Linked DNA regions of Homo sapiens: regions 2 and 3 are each linked to region 1. Evidence: promoter capture Hi-C in 16 types of primary human blood cells and fetal thymus (Javierre and others, 2016). All regions are on one chromosome and are shown on one strand. The core of a region is centred on a gene start or on the middle of the fragment in contact, and the rest is flanking DNA. Distances in the headings are between cores, read along the strand shown. Region 1 holds the start of NTNG1 (netrin G1). Region 2 has its middle 860 kb from the start of LINC01676. Region 3 has its middle 830 kb from the start of LINC01676.

Region 1 (3,132 bases), core at 428-2,927:
TTAGCTTGCCCCCCAAATCTGAGCAAGAACTAAAATGTGAAACATTCACCATTGTTAGCTTATCTTCCAAATTCTTGGACCACAGAGACACATTTCTTGTTCAACCAAGAGGGTCTTGAAGTGAGTTGTTTCCCCCATCCACTTGGCTTTGCCTATTGCTTGCTCCCCCTTATATATATAGAAAAAAAAGGCCGATTTCTGTTTGGTTTTGAGAGGTTTGCAGATTTCTGAGATCAGAGCGTTTTCCCTGTTGCAATAGTCTTTCTTTCTAATGGAAGTCTCCCTATCTTATCTAAATTCGGATTTGTTTCTGTTTGACGTTAATGTGTAGCTAAGAGTGATCCCAGGTGAGTCTGAGCCCGCCTTGGTGGGGAATGAAGCCTGGAGCATCGGAGCATTTGTCTTTCTCTTAGAAAAGGCAAGGAAGCCTGAAATGCGCAGCTCTCCCTTGAACTTCAACTTTTTAAAGGGGAATGAATTTCTAAAGGAGGAGTTTCCAGTCTAGGGCTGTAGGGGCCTCCGGGCAAAGGAAGTGCTTGTTGAAAAACAACATTGTGATCACTTCCAGCGGCGAAGGGTGTGCTTGGGAACGGTTTGGGGAGGGGACAGAAGAGAGAGGGGTGGGATGGACGGCGGCAGAAGTGGGAGGTACACGAGGAGTTACTGGAAACGGCGCTTCTGTGGAGGAGCCGGGGGGGATGGGGAGTAGAGGGAGGGGGCCCTGTTGCCTCAGCGCCCCGAGGTCGTGGAGCGGCAGCAGCTGCAGCCGGAGCAGCACCAGCAACAGCAACAGCGAGCGGGACGGAGTTAGGACCGCTCGGAGCGCACAGGTCTCGAGGTAGTATAAGGTTTGCTATCCTTCCACTTGCTGGCAGTTGCAGAAGAAGATCTGCTTTTTAAGTGAAACGTACATGCCACCCCTCCGAGGGCTGCGGCTTCCCCGGGCTTGCTTCTTTGCCGCTCCTCTTTCCGGCTCTCGCGCTCACTCTTTAATTGGCACTGGCCCCTAAGTTTGCCAGGAGCTCGCTGCCCGCTCGGAGCAGGGTCCCGGCCGGGAGCCGCTGGTGGGGGCGGGGAGTCCGGGAGCCGCAATCCAGAAGCGTCGTGGGCCATGTATATTTCATCAAACGGACTTTGGGTGCGTCGCGTCTCACTGCCATCAGTGCTATGTGCAGTGACATTTCTGACTTGAGTGGAGGAATGCGCGAAGGAAACCCGGGCGAAATTGGTATTAGAGGATCTTCTTGGCGCCAATGCTAATTGTCCTGATTTATGCCCCTTCTGACTAAGCTCAACGTCTTCATCTGAAATAAAATGAAAGCGGTGCCAAGCGGCATAGAACCGCCTGGCCGCTGGTTCTGATCCCCGGGAACCAGAAAATCGTCCTGCGGCTTGAAAAAAAAAAAAAGAGGAAAAAAAAAAGAAATAGAAATAGAAAAAAGAAAAAATATCCCTCAGTAAAAGTTTAAGGCGAGAAGTGTCAGAGGCAGCGGAGCGAGGAGGCGCGGAGGAGAGCCGGCGAGCAGGGGACTGGGCTGGCACGACCTCCGAAGGCTGAGATCTCATTATTAATATCACTATATTTTTGGAGGGAGAGGCACCTTTCTCATCCTCTCTTCCTCTCCGCCCACCCTTACTCCCTCCCCCTCATCTACCTGTCAAAGTCACTGATCTTTTGCATTTCGGAAGAGGACGTCAACGGGAAGGAATTCCCCCTCTGGGTGCGGGCTCCGAGAGGGGGCGACTTGCAGGAGGCTCCCCCCGGGGGCGGAGGCGAAGGTAATTAAGCGGCGGGGAGTGGCGGGCCGGCGCTGGGTTCTCGGTCCTCGGGGTCCTCTCCCGCCGGCGGCCGGGCGCGATCGGAATCCCCGGGCTGCGGCGGTGGCGGCGGCTCGGGTCCTCACGCCCACCCCTCCCGCTCCGCCCGCTCCCGCCTGGGGAGGAGGCTCCGCGGGAGCTGCCGCCCTCCGCCCGTACGCCGCCCGCGGGCTCCGCTGCTGCGGCCGCCGCCCGAGGCGGACCAGGCTGGCTGCGCAGGGCCGCCGCCCCGCGCCGTCGGCTCGGCTCCCGCCCGGCGCAAGGGCAAACGAGCCACACGGTAAGTGCCTGCGGCTCGCCTCTCCTACTGCGACCCGAGCCTCTCGCCCGTGCCCCTCTCCCCCGGGTTTCCCCACCCCCCGCCGCCCCCCGCCCCACCCGCTGCGATGCACAGGCGGGAGGGAAGGCTCCGGGTGGGCGAGGAACTTTGTAAAGCGCCCCGAGGAGGCAGCGCGCGGAGCCCTACGCGCACACACAGCGGCACACGCTCACACCCACACACAAGTCTTCCCGGGGGTGCGCCCCGGGCCGGTGATGCGTCCTCTTGTTGTGTCCGGAGCCCAGGCGTGGGGTCTGAGCCTCCATCCGCCGACTGACAGGGGCCCCGCGCTCTCCCTCTCTCACGCACACCTGGCCACACACATCGCTCAGGCGGCTTGTCGTTATTTTTTCTTTCTTTCGCCAATTATATTTGTTTGGGGAAAAGCAAACAAAAAAAACAAAAAAACACTTGCCCTATTGCCGGCCTTGGGGATCTGGTGGCCACATCGAGAGCTTTTGAAGTCCCTTCTTTTAATCGCCTTTATTGGTGCTAGATTAAAACATTACTATCCCATGTTGTGCAGCTGGGGAGAAAGGGAAATTGAAAGAGGAAGACTTGGTGTAGGGATGCTGTTTGGAATATTCTCTCATATTCTTTACTGGCATCATATTAATCGGTTGATGGATTCGGCTAGGGACACTGAATTGCACTCCTGTATGGATCTGTGGATATCTATATATAATACAAATAATACTGAATATTATTGGGCCTAAAATAACCAATTAAGTGATTCATACAAGGAAAAACTTAGATATAAAAAGAAACTGCGCCCTCTGCTGTTAATTTTAGTACCCTCACCCGGGGACTTTTTTTTTTTTTCCTTCAGAAATCCACTTAAGAGTAGGCTGTCATCTTACAGGGCAAGGGAAGAAAATTCCTAGCGGGGATTTTAAAGCAACTTTACTTGGAAAAGTCGCAGGTTGAGCTCCTATAGTTGCATCAGGTACAGATTTCCAGTGAGTAGACGGTCCTCCTCTCTCACCCATTCTTCT
Region 2 (3,132 bases), core at 417-2,916, 2.4 Mb before region 1:
AAATAATGCAGAAGTTTTATCTTTATATTATAGTATGATTTAAATTATTATTTTAGTCTGATATTATGATAGATTCCAATTCCCATAGCTTTGACATTTGTGCTCTTTGCAAACCTTTGCTCAATGTTTTTATTAACTCAATTTAATGGAGCCTTTTTTATGGTGACCTTAAGAATTTAATAACTCTTCAATGCAAGGACAATACCACCTGCAGGCTCCACTGGGATTAAACTGTGACCGTTCCATATGTCTGATGGAACACATTAAAGGAAAGAAGGGGCAGAGGGAGAAGCAGCTACACAAATCTGTCACTTCCCTCTAAGCAGCAAGTACTGCTACTGTTTAGGACGGTCAATCACAGGCACGTGTAGAAAATGTCTGTGATTGCTAAGGTAATTGGCAGCTCACTTGCAGCTCCTTAATAATATTAATCTGACTTTGATCGTGTCAGATATCCTAGCCATCTTCAATTCCAAAGTGCATCTGCTCCTGACAGACATTCTGCATATGTTACAGATACGATCAATATGTTATTAGTCAACATCCTGACGCTAGCCCATGAATTAATCCCTTTCTGTCAACCTAGCAGTTTCTAGTCTTTTGTAACCTCATTCCCTCAGTATGGATGGGACCTGGCTTAATCCAATTAAGATAAAATTAACTTTTTTTTCCCCGTGGTACTCTCCATCTATGTTAATTCAAATCTCTGAGGACAGCTGCTCCAAGAAAATAATTTTATGCTTGACCTTTTATGTGCAAGATTAAAGTGGTATAGATATATGCTTGGGAAGTCAGTGAACTGTCTCTCTATTTTCACCATCCTTTAACTTTCTAGTAGTGCTGGAAAAAGTTCAACTGAACACAGATGATTGCTAAATGGCAGTGATATATTTATCTGGGTTGCAAAAAAAAAAAAAACTCAGTTTAGCTTTGTGTTTAGTAAATATGGTACCTTTGTCTTGTTGAAAGGTAAATTAATAATATGTGGTGACAGTACTATGACACTATTTAGATTTGACAAGCAAAGAATGCTTTAACAGTCTATAATATGCAAAGAGAATCACTGATACTCCTGGTACTTATGTGATACAATGACATTACCTGCTATGAAAAAACACTGATTGGAAAGATTATTTCTCTTTGAGTCAAGGCATTAAAAGTAGGGTTTCTCTGTTATTTGACCGAGACAAAGATTATATTAGGATAATATACAAGCTTCATTCCTGAGAACCTAGCATGCACGGCTTTGAGGTTCAGTGGCTATCAGGTTTTTAAGATTGTAGATCAAGTAATCTCCAGGCCAACATTTGAAAAGAGTTTGCCTCCTAGGCAAAATTGTTTTCATTTTCTATCCCTTCCTCCCTCTTCTAACCCGCCCCACCTCCTACTACTTAACTGCCTTTGGTCTCTAACTTCCTTTAAGACATTTAGAAAAATCATGCTTTTCTTCTCTAAATCAAACCCATTCTGTGGAGAAGATAAATGACAAGTCATTTCCACATCGGCGTGAATTAAAAAAATATATATTGTCTCCTCGCGGCGTTATGAGAATAAAAGTCTTTGACCCTACAACAGAAGTGAAATATTGGTAAGAAAGCCATGGAAATATTTTTACTTGAGCAGACTCCCCTATACCTGCTTTTTAATTTTTTTTTTCAATTGATTGTTAGGAACAAAAATAAGAAGCAAAGGTTCTAAGAATAGGAAGCAGGAAAAAGGATCAGCTAAGACTAACAAAATACATTATTTTAAATTTGTTAGCTACACAACCTCAACATGTGTATAACCTATATGTTTATTAGGAAATGTTTTGTTAAGAGAGCTAACATTAAATACGCACCATCTAGACTTCGGTAATAGAACAATGATGTATCTGTGAAATTCTCTGAACTCCTTCTAGTTGCAAATTTCCCCAACTTAGATATACTGTGTATTTCAATATATCACATGTTTTAGTTGTCTTAGCTTTTTAACTAAATTTGATAGATCTGATAAATTAATATTTTGATTGACCAATACAGTTATTGATATCTTTACTAACTTATATTTTGCATTTCAACAATTCCGTTCGGATCTTTTTTCTGGGGGGTGGTAGAGGCACTAAAATTCATTCTTTACAAGCTTTTGTATCTAGTGGTAGCAATCTTTTTTCAATTTTTGCTTATCTGAACTGTTAAAAATTTAACCTCATTTCTGAAAGACAGTTTTGCTGGCATACAAGTCTATATCAGAGTCATTTTGTCACAGCCTATCAAATATATTTTTATGATTTTATTTTGGCCTCCATTATCACACTAAAAAGTTAGGCTATCAGTGTCCTTTCTTCCCTTCTTAGATAATCAACGTTTTGTCTTTTTAGAAAATATCTTGTTGGCCACCTACATTTCCATAATATACATTTGCTTTTATTTAATCTGTTTGGAATTCATTAGGATGTCCAAATATGAGAAAATTCCTCATCTATCCTGGAATATTATTTTTCCCTTGAAATCTTCTCCCCCATATGAAGGTGTATTTTCACTCTCCCAATTCCCTTGATTATTTTTTTCTATCTCCTTTTTTTAGACACTTTTATATTTTTTAATCCATAATATGGTGTGCCATTTTATTTTTCATTGTTTTATTTTTAAAATAGTAGCTATGTTTTGTTTCTTTAAACAAAATTTGACAGACATATTTACTTTGCATCTGTGTCTGACATATTTTATGTTTGCTGCTGCTTTTCTGCTGGCCAAACGTTTGTTGTTCTTTGTATCTTTATGTGCTTTGTGATTTTAGAGCTCATGAACTGTAGAATTTATATTTTGATTGTTGTATTCAATAATGATTCTTGTATTTAATCTAATTCATTTCACCTAATTTAGACCATGAATTCACATGAGAGTCCTGAAATTAGGAGTCCTCAACAAAGACCTTTCCTTTTCGGTCAAACACCCAGGTTGAGATAAAAACTTTTTTCTTTTTGGCTGTGTTTTTTTTTTTTTTTTTTGTATGTCAAGTTCTATTTCATCTTTACAATGGGAATATAGCATTTGGAATTTCATGTAAAAACACATTTTTTTTTCCCATTAGATTCCTTGCCAACTTTGTGGAGCCCAAGACTTTACTACCTTCCACCTCTTCAATTCCATA
Region 3 (3,132 bases), core at 286-2,785, 2.4 Mb before region 1:
GACTAAGAATGAATGGTAGAGGAGAGGCATGGAAATCATTTAATGAGCTCAATTAAGGACAGTTACCTGTATTCGACAGAATATATGTTAGCCCGATAACTGGGTCAGCAAAGATTTTGAGCATGAGGTTATGTAACATTTAATAATCAGGGTTCTGGTTTCATCTAGAACTAACCTACATAAACAGCAGCAAAGACAGATGGCTCATATTACTTTTTATGTGCCTTAAAACATTTTTACATGGTTTGTACTAAATTAAAAAAAATACTGCAGCATCCTCCTGAACATATAAATAAAACTTAGGAAATCAATACAAAAATCACTTTTACAGGTTGAACATCTCTAATATGAAATAAAAAATCCGAAATGCTCCAGTTGTTGAGTGCTGACACGAAACCACCAGTGGAAAATCTCACACCTGACCTTATGTGGCAGGTCACAGTCAAAACACAGTCAAAACTTTGTTCCATACACAAAATTATTTAAAATATTGTATAAAATTACCCTTAGGCTATGTGTATTACTTGTATATGAAACACGAGTGAGTTTTGTGTTTAGATTTGGGTTCCATCCACAAGATACGCCATATATGCAAATATTCCCAAATCTGAAAAAACCTGGAATCTGAAACATTTCTGGTCCTAAGCATTTTAGATAATGGATACTCAACCTGTACATAATCTTTCTTGTAGATGAGAGATTGTTGAAACAAGCAGAAAGATTTTTAATCACCCAAATGCTAATAATAACAAATTTCCCCATGAAATCACTGAATCAAGCTCATTTGTGCACTTCTTTTATTTAAGTTGACACTTCTTTTATTTACTCATTAGTTCATTGATTCACTTATGTAATAAAAACATTCTAAGGATCACTTCTATAGCATTTTAGCAATTATTATATGTGTATTTTGGATTATTGAAAGGACTCATATGACTACACAATGTATACTCAAGTGAAATGTTAATAATGACAATGTGTATGATAAAACAGGAGAAGGAAAACACAGGCAAACATCATGGAGTTCCCAGACATTCAGGCAAAAATTTTCAAGATATCTCATTCTCTTGAAAAATGCTACATCTCATGATCAGAAACCTTGAAGGTGTATCTTGGTGTCAGGGGAACTGAGGCAAAGCTTACTGAGAGTGCTTGTTTCTTTTTAATACCTTATTAGTCATACAGCCAAAACCACCCTTGGTAACCAGTTAAATCAAGTTCAACTCATCTGTCTGTACATTTTCTATAAAGAATGGTGCCAGGCCACCAGGGGAGCTTCAGGACTTTAAATACCACAGAATAGATCATTAATACATATTATTTTATTCTTATCTTGGCCCAGAGTTTGTCAGATGGAGCTTATATTAGGTTGGTGCAAAAGTAATTGCGGTTTTAGACCATGAAATTTAAATCATTATAACTAGGCTCAAACACATCTTTATTAATCAAAGTAGAAACCATTACAATCAACCCGTTTTTGCCAATGAGAAATGTTTATTCCTGTAGCATAAAAAATTGTGCTTCAGAATTTGACAAATTCATGGAAAGCATTTTCTGCATCCTGCTGAAAGTGGAAGCATTTTACCTGAAAAAAGTTGTTGAGACGCTTGAAGAAGTGGTAGTAGGTTTGCAAGAGGTTAGGTGAGTATGACAGATAAGGCAAAACTTCATAGCTAATTCTTTCAACTGTTGAAGCATTCGTTGTGCAATGTGTGTTCGGGCATTGTTGTGAAGAATTGGCCCCTTCTGATGACCAATGCTGGCTGCAGGCATTGAGTATTCATTACATCTCATCAATTTGCTGAGCATACTTGTCAGATGTAATGGTTTCATCAGGATTCAGAAAGCTGTAGAGAATCAGACTGGCAGCAGACCACCAAATAGTCACATCACCTTTTTTTTTGGTGCAAGTTTGGCTTTGGGAAGTGCTTTGAAGCTTCTTCTCAGTCCAACCACTGAGCTTTTCATCAGCAGTTGCCATATAAAATCCACTTTTCATCGTACATCACAATGTGATTGAGAAATGGTTGATTGTTGTTGAATAGAATAAGGAAAGATGACACTTCAAAATGACAATTCTTTTGATTTTCACTCGGCTCATGAGGCACCCACTTATCAAACTTTTTCACCTATCCAATTTGCTTCAAATATTGAATGACCATAGAATGGTCAACACTGAGTTCTTCAGCAACTCCTCCTATAGTTGTAATAGAATCAGCTTTGATAATTGCTCTCAATTGGTCATTGTCAGCTTCCAATATCCAGCCACCATGCTCCTCATCTTCAAGGCTCTGGTCTCCTTTGAAAAACTTTTTTTTTTTTTTTTTTTTTTTTTTTTTTTTTTTTTTTTTGAGGCAGAGTCTCACTCTGCCACCCAGGCTGGAGTGCAGTGGCACGATCACGCTCACTGCATGCTCCGCCTCCCTGGTTCATGCCATTCTCCTGCCTCAGCCTCCCGAGTAGCTGGGACTACAGGCGCCCGCCACCACACCTGGCTAATTTTTTGTATTTTTCGTAGAGACGGGGTTTCACCATGTTAGCCGGGATGGTCTCGATCTCCTGACCTCGTGATCCACCTACCTCGGCCTCCCAAAGTGCTAGGATTACAGGCGTGAGCCACCACGCCCGGCGTGAAAAACTTCTTGAACCATCACTACATTGTATGTTTGACAGCAGTTCTTGGGCCAAATGCATTGTTGATCTTGCCAGTGGTCTCTGCTGCTTTACGACCCATTTTGAACTTGAATAAGAAAATCATTCGAATTTGCGTTTTGTCTAACATCATTTCCATTATCTAAAATAAACTTAAACAGCAAGTAATAAGTGATTAACAAAAAAAAATTTAAGCGAGAAGGGCCCATTAATGTCTGTCATATATGAGTCTCTATTGAGTCAAGAATGGCAAATAATAATAAAGCCTCTTTTACATTTCTACATAAAAAGCTAACTAATAATCACTTTTAAAAAATGGGATTAAAATACTTGGATTTTACTCTCCCTCTAACTGGCTTTTATTCTTAGTTTGGATTTTTTTTTAACTTATCCTAAAATTGAATACCATTTATCTAGTCTCAAAGCATTAGTGGGTAAACAAAATAAATATCCATATACTGGTGTAATTTCAGGAATGGC

The links. The method cuts DNA at HindIII sites, captures the fragments that hold promoters and counts their contacts. A CHiCAGO score of 5 or more calls a contact.
Region 2: a fragment that was not itself captured here is called in contact with the fragment with the promoter of NTNG1 in region 1 in 1 of 17 cell types (total B cells); the score reaches 9.4 in total B cells.
Region 3: a contact is called between a fragment that was not itself captured here and the fragment with the promoter of NTNG1 in region 1, in 4 of 17 cell types (total B cells, naive B cells, endothelial precursors and 1 more). The highest score is 16.0, in total B cells.

What each region holds. Positions count from the first base shown.
Region 1 is chr1:107,139,362-107,142,493 of GRCh38, forward strand. It overlaps NTNG1 (netrin G1), which reads left to right and starts at 1,678. Exons shown (of 8, transcript NM_001113226.3): 1 at 1,678-1,779. RefSeq lists an enhancer at 1,318-1,849 and silencers at 1,783-2,072, 2,093-2,372. The HindIII fragment of the contact is 6,022 bases long and covers 1-3,132 here.
Region 2 is chr1:104,761,829-104,764,960 of GRCh38, forward strand. No RefSeq gene overlaps it. Among named protein-coding and RNA genes, the nearest start is that of LINC01676, 860 kb to the right of the region's middle. The HindIII fragment of the contact is 906 bases long and covers 1,214-2,119 here.
Region 3 is chr1:104,784,607-104,787,738 of GRCh38, forward strand. No RefSeq gene overlaps it. Among named protein-coding and RNA genes, the nearest start is that of LINC01676, 830 kb to the right of the region's middle. The HindIII fragment of the contact is 798 bases long and covers 1,137-1,934 here.